Linked DNA regions of Homo sapiens: regions 2 and 3 are each linked to region 1. Evidence: promoter capture Hi-C in human tissues and cell types (Jung and others, 2019). All regions are on one chromosome and are shown on one strand. Each heading gives the region's core, a stretch centred on a gene start or on the middle of the fragment in contact. The rest is flanking DNA. Distances are from core to core; before and after follow the strand shown. Region 1 holds the start of TMED9 (transmembrane p24 trafficking protein 9). Region 2 overlaps NSD1 (nuclear receptor binding SET domain protein 1). Region 3 has its middle 18 kb from the start of PROP1.

Region 1 (4,103 bases), core at 1,604-4,103:
ATTACAGGCATGTGCCACCACACAGGCTAATTTTGTATTTTTAGTAGAAACAGGGTTTCTCCATGTTGGTGAGGCAGGTCTCGATCTCCTGACCTTGTGATCCTCCCGCCTCGGTCTCCCAAAGTGCTGGGATTACAAGCGTGAGCCACCGTGCCCGGCCAAAGTTGACTGTTTTTAACTGTACACTTCAGTGGGATTAAGTACATTATATTGCCATAGAACTCTCACCACCATCCATCTACAGAACTCTTTTTATCTTGGAAAACTGAAACTCTATACCTATTAAACAATAACTTCACTCTCCCTGTCCTCCAGTCCCTGGCAACCACCATTCTGCTTTCTGTCTCTGTGATTTTGACGACTCTAGTACCTCATATACATGGAATTACCCAGTATTTATCATTTTATGTCTGGCTTAGTCCACTTAGCGTAATGTTTCTTCAAGATTCATCTATGTTGTAGCATGTGTCAGAATTCCCATCCTTTCTAAGGCTGAAAGGATTTCCATTGTGTGGATGTACCATATTTTGCTTATCTATTCATCTACTGATGAAGAACTGGGTTGCTTCCATTTTTTTTTTTGCTTGTGAATAATGCTGCTGTGAACATATGTGTACAAATATCTCTTTGAGACCCTACTTTTAATTATTTTGAGGATATCTCTAGATATGGACTTGCTGAATCATATGGTAATTCTATTTTTATTTATTTATTTTGAGACAGTGTCTTGCTTTGTCACCCAGGCTGGAGTGCAGTGGCATGATCACAGCTCACTGTAGCCTTGACCTCCCAGGCTCAAGCAATCCTCTTGCCTCAGCCTCCTGAGTAGCTGGGACTACAGGCGCATGCCACCAGATCCAGTTAATTTTTGTATTTTTTGTAGAGATGGGGTTTCGTCATGTTGCCCCGACTGGTCTCGAACTCCTGGGCTCAAGCAATCCTCCTGCTTCTGCCTCCCAAAGCGCTGGAATTATAGGCGTAAGCCACCATGCCCAGCCTATTTTCACTTTTTTGAGGAATCATTATACGGTTTTCCACAGTGTCTGTACCATTTTACATTCCCACCAACAGTGCACAAGGGTTCAATTTCCCCACATCCTTGCCAATGCTTGTAGTTTCTTTCTTTTCCTTTTTTTTTTTCTAGTGGCCATCTTAATGGGTATATGACGTAGTATCTCATTGTTCTTTATCTCATTGTGATTTGTGTTTCTCTAATGATTAGTGATGTTGAGTATCTTTTCATGTGCTCACTGGCCACTTGTTGATCACTGGAGAAATGTCTATTCAAGCCCTTTGTTGTGGTTTTTGAATGAGATTGTTCTTATTTTGTTGCTGAGTTTTAGGAGTCTCTGCATATTCTGGATATTAATCCTTTGTCAGATATATGATTTGCAAATATTTTCTTCCATTCTGTGGGTTGCCTCTTTACTCTGCTACAGAGTCTTTTGATGCACAAAATGTTTTAATTTTCATAAAGTCCAATTTGTCTATTTTTTCTTTTGTTGCCTGTGCCTTTAGTGTCATATCCAGGAAGTCTGTTGCCAAATCCGATGTGGTAAACCCTTTGCCATATGTTTTCTATGAGTTTTATGCTTTGGGATTTTAAAAGTTGTGGGTCTTTTTGGGTGAATTTTTATCTATGGTGTTAGAGAAGGAACCACCTTCACTTTTTTGCATGTGGATATCCAGTTTTCCCAGCACCATTTGTTAGAAAGACTGTCCCTCCTCCCCGCATTGAATGGGCTTGGTCTCCTTGTTAAAAATTATTTGACCATATATGGGAGGGCATATCTTGGGGCTCTCTATTGTATTCCATTGGTCTATATGTCTGTCTATATGCCAGTACCACACTGTCTTGATGACTGAAGCTTGGAAGTAAGTTTTGAAATCAGGAAGTGTGAGTTCTTCAGCTTTATTCTTATTTTTCAGGATTGTTTTGGCTAATCGAAATCCCTTGAGAGTATATGAATTGTAGAATGAGTTTCTCTGTTTCTACAAAAAATGTCATTGGGATTTTGACAGGAATTGCATTAAATCTGTAGATTGCTTTGGATAGTATTGACATCTTAACTATATTAAGTAAGGATGATTTTTTTTAAATTACTGATTCAATCTCCTCACTAGTTATAGGTTTATTCAGATTATATTATCTATTCTGAGTCAGTTTTGCATTTCTATGAATTTGTCCATTTCATCTACGTTATCCAATTTGTTGGCTTATATTTGCTCATAGTACTCTCTTATGATCCTTTCTATTTCTGTAGAATTGCTAGTAACGAGCCATTGCAGTTGGGATCTGGCAGCAGAGGCTGTGTGTGTGTTTGTGTGTGTGTGTGATCGGAGAAATGCTTGAGAGGGTAACACCCGATTTAGGAGTGGACAGGGTATGAGGACAAAGAAGTGGTAATGGGAGACCTTGCCTTTTATTTCTTTTAATCTTTTTTGATAATACATTTGTGCATTATTTGGTCGTTCTCTTTAAATTCATTTTTAAAGGTAGAAGCAAATCAAGACTGGTAGATGCTGTGCCAAGGAAAGTCAGGGATCCTAGGTTCGAATCCTGTCTCTGTTCGCAATTCGCTCCGCAACCTCAAACAAACGACCTCAGTTTCATCTATGAAAAGCTGGTAACCATCGTCAGTTGCCAGGCCATGAAGAGAGTCAACGGAAATAAGTTTTTATTCTAGGGCACCCGCTCTCTCTCAGGTAAAAGCCGCGCCCCAATCAGGTACTGCCGCGCCAGGGCCGCGGGACATCTCGGGATTTGTGGTCCACCCGGCGGAACTCGCGGTCCCGGCAGGCACCGCGGCGGCGGCAGGGCGACGTGGCGCGGCCGGCTGCGGCTGCGCAGGCAGGTGGAGCAAGATGGCTGTGGAGCTGGGCGTGCTGCTCGTCCGGCCCCGGCCCGGAACCGGGCTGGGTAGAGTGATGCGGACCCTCCTGCTGGTGCTGTGGCTGGCGACGCGCGGAAGCGCGCTCTACTTTCACATCGGAGAGACGGAGAAGAAGTGCTTTATTGAGGAGATCCCGGACGAGACCATGGTCATAGGTGCGGGGGCGGGGAGGAAGGGGCGAGTTTGGAACGTGACCGTGGTCTTGGGGCGGGGGATGCGAGACAGTCAGCTCTCTAGAGCCGGGAGGAGACGGCCTCGCCGTGCCCAGGCGGTCGCGGAACCCATGCCACCTCGCGCTCCTCTGACCTGGGCTCGCCCTGCTTCCCTCAAGGAAACTACCGGACGCAGCTGTATGACAAGCAGCGGGAGGAGTACCAGCCGGCCACCCCGGGGCTTGGCATGTTTGTGGAGGTGAAGGACCCAGAGGACAAGGTGAGCCAACCGCCCCCCTCCTCTCCGCCAGCCTCTCAGCTAGGCGGGCTCCGGTACTTCCTCTTCTAGTTCCTGCATCTGCTAAAGTGGGAGAGACAGTTGATGTTGTGGGAATATCCTGCTGACTTGCAGACCCCGCCCGGTCTGTGAAATGGGCGGATTAATTGTGGTGATAAAAATCAAAGAGTTTTGTCAACTCTTAAAGTCATCTAGACTTTAAGATTTCACAGAACATGATACTTTCCCCACAAAATGAGCAGCTTTTAATCTTCCCAAGTAAGGATATTAAAACGAACGGCAAAACCCTTCAGCTCTCACCTTCTGTCACTTTTCGTTAAAAAACTCATGGCGGGGTGTGGTGGCTCTTGCCTGTAATCCCAGCACTTTGGGATGCCGAGGCGGGTGGATCACTTGAGGCCGGGAGTTCAGGACCGGCCTGGGCAACCTCCGTCTGGCAAACCCCGTCTCTAGTAAAAATACAAAAAAAAAAAAAAAAAAAAATGAGCCGGGTGTGGTGGCGCACACCTCTAATACCAGATACTTGGGAGGCTAAGGCACGATAATTGCTTGAACCTGGGAAGCTGAGGCTGCAGTGAGCTGAGATAGCATCACTGCACTCCAGCCAGGACGACAGAGTGAGACTCTGTCTCAAAAACAAAAACAAAAAAGAACCCCCCAAAAAACAACTCACACCAAAAAAGTTGAAAGGGCATAAGCTATAAAGGAAAGCCCTTCCCAAGAGCAGTCAGTCACTTGCCACCCTAATGTCAGACTCTC
Region 2 (4,324 bases), core at 1,825-4,324, 350 kb before region 1:
CAAAATATGAAAAATTCTAAATCACTTCTGATCCCAAGCGTTTCAGATAAGGCATACTTAGCCTGTAACTCAAGATGTATTTTACCTATTTACCTGATCTAGATGCTACATTTTTGTTAGGTATATATTAGCTTTATATGTACAGGTGTCAGTGACTATAAGACCTGGCTTTAAATTTAACCTTTTCCTTAATTTTGGATGGGCCACATATATTCTATTATTTGTGTATATAAGGTAACACAAGTCCTTTTGTCTCCCCCCAGCTCCTTTTGCATATGAGAAAACATAAGCCATTTTGTGCCTCTTGCATCTTAAGCCATAGTCTATTTTACTATGTGGTTTCCCATCTGGTTACTTTTGGGAGTATCAGATGGTCTCATAAAAACAGTGGGTTTTCCTGAAGCTTTTTGATTAATGTTGAATTTGTTTATCATCTTTTAGCTGTGCGGTCAGAGAAGAAACGCCTTAGGAAGCCAAGCAAGTGGCTTTTGGAATATACAGAAGAATATGATCAGATATTTGCTCCTAAGAAAAAACAAAAGAAGGTACAGGAGCAGGTGCACAAGGTATGTTGCAAAATTTCAGCAAACTTTCACTGGTCCTTAGGAAACTGCAATTTTATCTTCAATGTCATACTTTATCTTCATGAAACAATAATTTCCTTAACTGAGATCTTGTTTTTTATTCTCAGCTTCTAGCACAGTACTTAGGATTTAGTGGTTATTCAGGAAATATATAAATGAATCTACATATTGTATTTATTTATGTATATATTTTTCCCTCTTTGCCTTCAAAGAGTAATGACTTAGGAATATTGTTATGATTTAATCTTAAGTAAAAATATAGGCTATAAAGTGAAATATATATAGTCTGACCCTAATTTCAAAAGTAAATATATCTTATTTGTCTTATTTTTCAACTCAGTTTTTTAAAATGAAATAGAGACATCTTGACATTCTACCCCTACATAGTTTAATATGTAGTTAAAAAATGGAACATTTTCCTTTATAATCAATTTAACATATTTACATCTTATATAAGATCTGTTTATCTGACATCAACTGTCTTTCAAATTTCATCAATTATCCCCTAACCTTTACCTTTGGATTATTCATACCAGGACTCAATCTAGGACTGCTCATTGTAACTGGTTGTTATGGTTCTCAAATCACTTTGAATTCAGAACAATCCCTTTTTTCATGATCATGATCATGTCTATAAGAGAGTGACATATAAAGTCATCTACTTTCTGTATTTGTGTAATTGCTTCCTCATAGGTGTCACTTAGATTGTTTTCTCTATCTCCTGTTCTCTGTCAAATGGAAGATAGAACCTATCAGTTTGATAGATTGAAAGTTGAACATTTTTAGCTAGACTATATCAGAGATGATAATGTGGAATATATTGTACATTAGAGGGTTAAAAAATGTTTTATTCCCATCAGCCATTCCCTGACAGTTTGTTCTTTCTTTTTTAAAATTGAGACAGTGTCTTGCCCAAGCTGGAGTGCAGAGATGCACGAACACGGTTCACTGCAGCCTTGACCTCCTGGGTTTAAGCAATGTTTCCGTCTCAGCCTCCTGAGTAGTTGGGACCAAAGGTGCACACTACCACACCTGGCTAATTTTTGACAACATTTTTTTTGTAGAGGCGGTGTCCCACTATGTTGCCCTGGCTGGTCTCGAATTCCTGGGCTCCAGTGATCTTTCTGCCTCAGCCTCCCAGAGTGTTGGGATTACAGGTGTGGGCCACCATGCCCAGCTTCCCTGATGGTTTTTTGAAAACCCCAGTTGAAGATCTTTACCTATATCAATAATTTTATTAGAGGTTACAAAATGAAGACTTTCAGATTTTATTATTTTCTCTATTTTTATTAACTGATAGTCTCTTTCATTAATTGGACTCTGTTATTGTCCTGAAATACTTGAAAGGCAGAATAAGTGCTTCTTTCTTTCCCATTAATTACCAATTGTAACATTAAGGAGTTCATTAGTAGTTGTTTTAATTGGAGACATTAGAGCAGTCTCTTTCCCCTGCTTTTGAATTATTGTTGTGGACTTATCAATATTATAGCTTCAGTGTATCTCAGTCAACTTCATTTAATTTTGGTTAAAAAAATATATATATATAATGTAAATTTTATTATTTTATCTTTTTTTTTTTTTTTTTTTGAGATGGAGTCTCACTCTGTTGCCCAGGCTGGAGTGCAGTGGTGTGATCTCAGCTCACTGCAAGCTCTGCCTCTCCTGTTCACACCATTCTCCTGCCTCAGCCTCCCGAGTAGCTGGGACTACAGGTGCCCGCCACCACACCTGGCTAATTTTTTGCATTTTTAGGTAGAGACAGGGTTTCACCATGGTAGCCAGGATGGTCTTGATCTCCTGACCTCGTGATCTGCCTGCCTTGGCCTCCCAAAGTTCTGGAATTACAGGCGTGAGCCACCACGCCCAGCCTATTTTATCCATTTTTAAGTGTACAGTTCAGTAGCATGAAGCACAGTTAGATTGTTGTGCAACCATCTCCACCATCCATCTCGATAATTTTTTTCATCTTTCCAAATTAAAAATCAATACCCATTAACCAATAACTCCCTTTTCTGCTCAGCCCCTGGCAATTGCCATTCTATTTTCTGTCTCAAGAATTTTCTTATTCTAGATACCTCATATACTTGAAATCATACGATATTTGTTCTTTGTGTCTTAAGTAATTTCCCTTAGCATACATAATGTCTTCAAGGTTCATCCACTTTTTGTAGCCTTTGTCAGAATTTCATTCCTTTTAAAGTGTGTTATTCTTTTTGACACTTAAATTACAACAATTTTGGCCTGTGGACTCTATTTTTATTTTTTGTTCTTAGGTAAGTTCCCGCTGTGAAGAGGAAAGCCTTCTAGCCCGAGGTCGATCTAGTGCTCAGAACAAGCAGGTGGACGAGAATTCTTTGATTTCAACCAAAGAAGAGCCTCCAGTTCTTGAAAGGGAGGCTCCGTTTTTGGAGGGCCCCTTGGCTCAGTCAGAACTTGGAGGTGGACATGCTGAGTTGCCGCAGCTGACCTTGTCTGTGCCTGTGGCTCCGGAAGTCTCTCCACGGCCTGCCCTTGAGTCTGAGGAATTGCTAGTTAAAACGCCAGGTAAGGTGGGGTTGGGGTCTCAGTATTTGAGCAGATATGATTAGAGGAAGCAGGAGATTTTAGTATGTTTTGATGTAAAGCCAACATTGTATCTATATACAATAAACTACCCCCTTTTGTCCTGGGAAATACTTAAAATGATGGTTAATTAGATATAGTTACTAACCATGAACTGTGGCACACTATCAAGAAGATGTATTTTTAATAACTATGCTCCTTGCTCCAGTGTTGCTCTTCATGATTGTTGATCAGCCACTGTGTAAATTAACAACCAGGATAACAGGGCTTCAAGAGGAGTACTGCACATTAGTGGAATAAGCACTATGCTTCAAGTGCTGGCTCCACCAATCCTTGTGTTACTTGGGAAGTTGTTTAATCTCTGAACTTGTTTCCTCATCTATAAATGGAGATCATAATGTATTAATGTGTAATGTTATATACCTGACAACATAGTAATTACCAGTTCATTAGAAGTTAATTACCAGTTACTTCTCACTTGATCATTCTTTATATATCACCTGGGGAGAGTTGGATCTAAACATATTGTCTCTAATTCACCTTGTAACTATTGAATATTATAGTCAGTCAAGGAATGGCAAGAATCCTCTTTTCTGTACCCCTTTAAATTTTGGATATAACTTTTTTACATTATCAACAGTAGCTTTTGATGTTATTCCTTAAAGAAACGATTCCAATTGTGCTTAAACTAGTTGGGTATAATAAAAAAGATTTTTGAAAGAACAGTAAAGATAGTTATTATTTCAGTACCTACTATGTGCCAAAACTCTATTAAGTCAGCTCTTTTATATTATTCTTGAGTGATCCTATGAATTATCTTTTACCTATTGAATTTTATTTACTTAGGGGCAGAGCAGAAACTATAATCTTTGTCCATTTATGACCATGATCCAAGTTCTATTTCACTCCACTTCTCCTTATTTTATCCTCACCAACAATCAGTTGTTATAAAGGCAGTTCCGTCCTTCTGACTTCTCCCTTAGTGATTTTGTGAGTTAAAGTCACCACACACACATCCCTCACATTAGTTGGTGCTTGCATTGAAAACTGTTTACTTGTTTTGTTTACTAATATTTTATAATAAGCAAATTACCATCCTGCCTCTTCCCATAAGATGACGGGGAAAACATCAAAAACATTGAGATTCATTTTGTGTGGTATACAGATTTTTTAAAAAT
Region 3 (4,414 bases), core at 1,909-4,408, 420 kb after region 1:
TTTTAAAATTTCATTTTAACAGCAAATAATATTATAAGATAAGGTAACCTGGTGCTAGTTTCTGTTGCATGATCCATCCTGTGTTGCAATGCTGGCTACCTTTTTGACTTCTGGTGACTCACAGGTATTTGAATGGAAGTTACCATAGCAATATTAAGCAATTATAATCTGTCCTTCTTATCTCTTTAACCTTTCAGTGAAAGTGTTAAATTGAATAAGCATAATAATTTCTGAGTTAAAATTGGAATAAAAATGGTCTTTTATTTTGATTATGTGAATCTAGTTTTCATATCGTGCTAAATCCCTGTTTAGAGTTAGGAAATAAGATATTTAATCATTTTATCAATATTTTCTTGCCTAAGCTTGCAATTGAATTTATTTGTTTTATGCATTTTCTATACTGCGATTTGAGAAATCATGCCCACATGCTGTTACTTTGGTCTTTAATGATCTCCAATTTTTAGGGTTACCACTGTGTCCTGCTTAAATATATCATAATAACAGATTCAGTGAATATCTTTTATTTTTTATTTTTGTTCTGGAAATCCTGGGATGCATAGACAGTGAATATGTTTTTTAAATCAATAACTCTATTTCTTATAGCAGTTTTAGGTTCACAGCAAAATCGGAGGAAGGTACAGAGATTTCTCCTCTGTTCCATGCCTCCCACACATGCACGGCCTCCCCCATGATTAGTATTTTCCACCAGAGTGGTACATTTGTTACAACTGATGATCCTACATTGACACATTATAATCACTCAAAGTTCATAGTTGACATCAGGCTCCATTCTTAATACTGTACATTCTGTGAATTTGGACAAATGTATAATGACATGTGTCTATTTATTATAGATAGAACAGTTTCACTGCCCTAAAAATGCTCTATTCTCTGCCTGTTCATCTCTCCCTTTCTCCCTAGCAGCTGCTGGAAACCACTGATCTTTTATCTGTCTTCATAGTTTTACTTTTTTCAGGAGAGTCATATAGTTGAAATAATACAATGGATATCTTTTTGAATAGTTAAAAAAGTAAAGTTCCATGGTAATTGAATGTAGTCATTTAAGATGTTCTTTGTCCTTTTGTTTTTCTTTAGCTTCTTTGTCTTTGTAAGGTCTGATGACATATGCTTTACATACTTAGGAAACATGATTTGTATAGGCCTTTGCCACATAATGGAAAGGGTTGAGGAAAATGACACCATGCAATACCACACAGCACAAACTGGAGCATCTTGCTCCAGTGAGGTGGGTCCAGATAGACTCCCTAGCAATGGAAGGGGAGAAGCTCAAGAGGTTGTACTTTAAAAAACTGGAATCACAAAGTCTTTCATACTTACCTTGGGTTGGAAATAAGACCAGGCAGTGAATGTTATAGATAAATACATATGTTCCTCACTGATCCTCTTCCTTTGAGGGATGACTTTGAAAACAGTCTGTGTTATGATGACATGACTCACCTGCAACTAGATTCTGTGTCGTGAGGGACGGCAGTTTTGCTTTATGTGAGGTGAAAAAGAATTTTTTTCTCCTACTAGGGAAAGGGGCAAGCATTGGAACATTCTGGCAGCAAGAGGGCATTGATAGTTTTCTTTCTGTATATTTTTCACATCATATAGTACTGCCTGGCAGCCTGGCACACCTCGCCGGTGTTTCTTAAGCTTCTCTCTGAATGTGAGGCGTGGTTCCGAGTGTATAAGCTCTTAAAGGAGTGATCTTTCCAGTGGTTCTTTCCGTGGGAGGTAAAATGGCAGGTGAATTTGGGCCTTCTTATACGTAGGGCAGAGTATATAGCTACAACTAAGGAAACCACCCAGCACCTTCCCCAGAAGAGTAGTATCCAGAGTAACACATTGAGCTCTCTTGAGCTCTTCTCCACTGGCAGCTGGAAAGTTTTTGCAAGGATCCCTGTTGCTGGTCTGATTCCTACATTCTGCTGGCTTCTGGTGATAGGGTGTTTGATTCTATACTGAAAAGTTTTAACTGAAGAGCTAGAGAGGCTGTGTTGTGTTACAACAAAATAAGTGCAGTAGTTCCCCGTTAACTATGGGAGATAACATTCTAAGACACCCCCAGTGAATGCCTGAGACCACAAATAGTACTGAATCACCCACTGGTTTTTCCTACACATACATAACCATGATAATATTTAATGTATAAATTAGGCACAGTAAGAAACGAACAATAAAATAACAAATTATACTGTAATAAAAGTTACTTGAATGTGGTCTCTTGAAATATATTGTACGGTTCTCACCCATTTTTTTTTTTTTTGGGACGGAGTCTCGCTCTGTCGCCCAGGCTGGAGTTCAATGCTGTGATCTCGGCTCGCTGCAAGCTCTGCCTCCTGGGTTCACACCATTCTGCTGCCTCAGCCTCCGGAGTAGCTGGGACTACAGGCGCCCACCACAAAGCCCGGCTAATTTTTTTTTTTTTTATTTCTTTAGTAGAGATGGGGTTTCACCGTGTTAGCCAGGATGGTCTTGATCTCCTGACCTCGTGATCCGCCCGCCTCGGCCTCCCAAAGTGCTGGGATTACAGGTGTGAGCCACTGCACCCGGCTGGTTCTCACCCTTTTTCTTGTGATGATGTGAAGTGATACAATGCCCGTGTAATGAGATGAACTGAGGTGAATGACGTGATCCTAGATCGTCAGGCCTTGATGTTGGCGGCGGGCTACAGGAGGAGACCGTGTTGATGACTAACGGGTGGACAGCATGTGCAGTGTGGGTGCACTGCAGGACGATTCACATCCTGGGCTGGATAGAGGGTGCTGACGGTTTCACTGTGCTTCTCGGAATGGCACACTAAAACTTATGACCTCTTTATTTCTGGAGTTTTCCGTGTATATTTTTGGAATACAGTTGACTATTAGTAACTGTAACCACAGAAATCAAAACTGCAGATGTAAAATCTCTGGATCTTAACTCATTTGTTGGGTACAATTCTTAAAATCCTTAGGATTTCCAAAGTGATGTTTTTTTGTATGCTAATGATCCATGGCTGGAAGCCCCTAGGTAGCTTCAGGATGGGAACTGGTCACCATCCTGAAGACATGATTGATTAGAGTGTTGAGATCTTCTGTCTCATTCAGGAGACTCTGGAGAGGAGAGAAGAGCTGAAGGTTGTCAGTCACCAAAGGCCAGTGATTAATCAGTGATACCAATATAATGAAGCTTTCATCAAGACCCAAAGTGACTGGGCTTGGAGAGCTTCCAGATGGCTGAATGCATGGAGGCTCCTACAGGATGGTGTGTCCTGGGAGGGCATGGAATCTCCGTGCCACCTCCCCCATACTTTGCACTATGCATCTCTTCATCTGTATCTTTTGTAATGTCATTCATAGAAAACTGGTAAATGTGTTTCCCTGAGTACTTTGAGCCACTCTAGCAATTCAATTTAACCCAAAGAGGGAGTCCTGGGAACCTCAATTTGAAGACAGTTGGCCAGAAGTTCTGGAGTTTCAGACCTACAACTGATGTAGGGAGGCAGTTTCATGGGACTGAGCCCTTTACCTGTGCAATCTGATGCTATCTGCAGATAGAGTGTGAGAATTGACTTAGAGGATGCCCAGTTTGTGTCATCGGCAGAAATGATTGCTTACTTGTTGGTGGAGAAAAACCCTCCACACGTTTTGTCACAGGAGACTTCTTTGTTATTGTTGCTGTGACGTGACAGCAGAGAAAAACAGGTCAAATGTGTCTTTTCCACACATACAGTGGACAAGGGGTACTACTGTATACTCTGTTTGAACTGCCCGTCATGTTTTGGTCCTGAAATCATGCTCTTTGACACTGTTCATTCATCACACCTGTTCTGCTAACAATACCATTTTTAGTCAATCTCACAGGGTTTGGCTAGGATAACTTGTATACTGCGGTTCACTTGTAGATATCAAATTTTATAAATTTATTCTTCTTTGCATTTAATAAATACAAAGTAAGGGAAGTAAGAGTTCTTACTGCATTAATTATCTACTAATAGGTATAATTAATATTAATTCTAATAAGGTCCCGGTTATGCTCCCAAAGGAATGCTATATAACAAAGCATCAGTCCTATGCTTTAAAAAAAGAAAAGAAAAGAAAAGAAAAAAACATGGTCTGAAGTCTGCACACAAGTGTGCATAACTTTTTTGTGAAGATAGAGTCTTGCTGTTTCCCAAGCTGGCCTCAAACTTCTGGGTTCCTCAAGTGATCCTCCTGCCTCAGCCTCCCAAGTAGTTGGGAATACAGGCATGTATCACTGTGCCTTCTTATGCTTTTAATATTCTATACAATTATTATTGATTTATAATGCAGTATACCTTTTTCTTTAATAGATTCTGGGAGTTCTGATGAATATGCAGTCAGGTAGGATTTTACAGATTTAAAAAAATATGTTAACTAAGGAAATATAGATGGAAGAGATTCATATC

The links. The method cuts DNA at HindIII sites, captures the fragments that hold promoters and counts their contacts. A contact is called where the count stands out against the background at its distance.
Region 2: a contact is called between a fragment that was not itself captured here and the fragment with the promoter of TMED9 in region 1, in 1 of the 25 tissues and cell types used here (spleen).
Region 3: a fragment that was not itself captured here is called in contact with the fragment with the promoter of TMED9 in region 1 in 3 of the 25 tissues and cell types used here (dorsolateral prefrontal cortex, hippocampus and mesenchymal stem cells).

The regions. Positions count from the first base shown.
Region 1 is chr5:177,589,350-177,593,452 of GRCh38, forward strand. TMED9 (transmembrane p24 trafficking protein 9) reads left to right here and starts at 2,854. Exons shown (of 5, transcript NM_017510.6): 1 at 2,854-3,049; 2 at 3,226-3,326. The coding sequence starts at 2,866. RefSeq lists an enhancer at 4,059-4,103. The HindIII fragment of the contact is 6,732 bases long and covers 1-4,103 here.
Region 2 is chr5:177,235,380-177,239,703 of GRCh38, forward strand. It overlaps NSD1 (nuclear receptor binding SET domain protein 1), which reads left to right. Exons shown (of 23, transcript NM_022455.5): 6 at 442-566; 7 at 2,858-3,128. Among named protein-coding and RNA genes, the nearest start is that of RAB24, 66 kb to the right of the region's middle. The HindIII fragment of the contact is 9,664 bases long and covers 1-4,324 here.
Region 3 is chr5:178,012,268-178,016,681 of GRCh38, forward strand. It overlaps the pseudogene FAM153CP. Among named protein-coding and RNA genes, the nearest start is that of PROP1, 18 kb to the left of the region's middle. The HindIII fragment of the contact is 6,355 bases long and covers 1-4,414 here.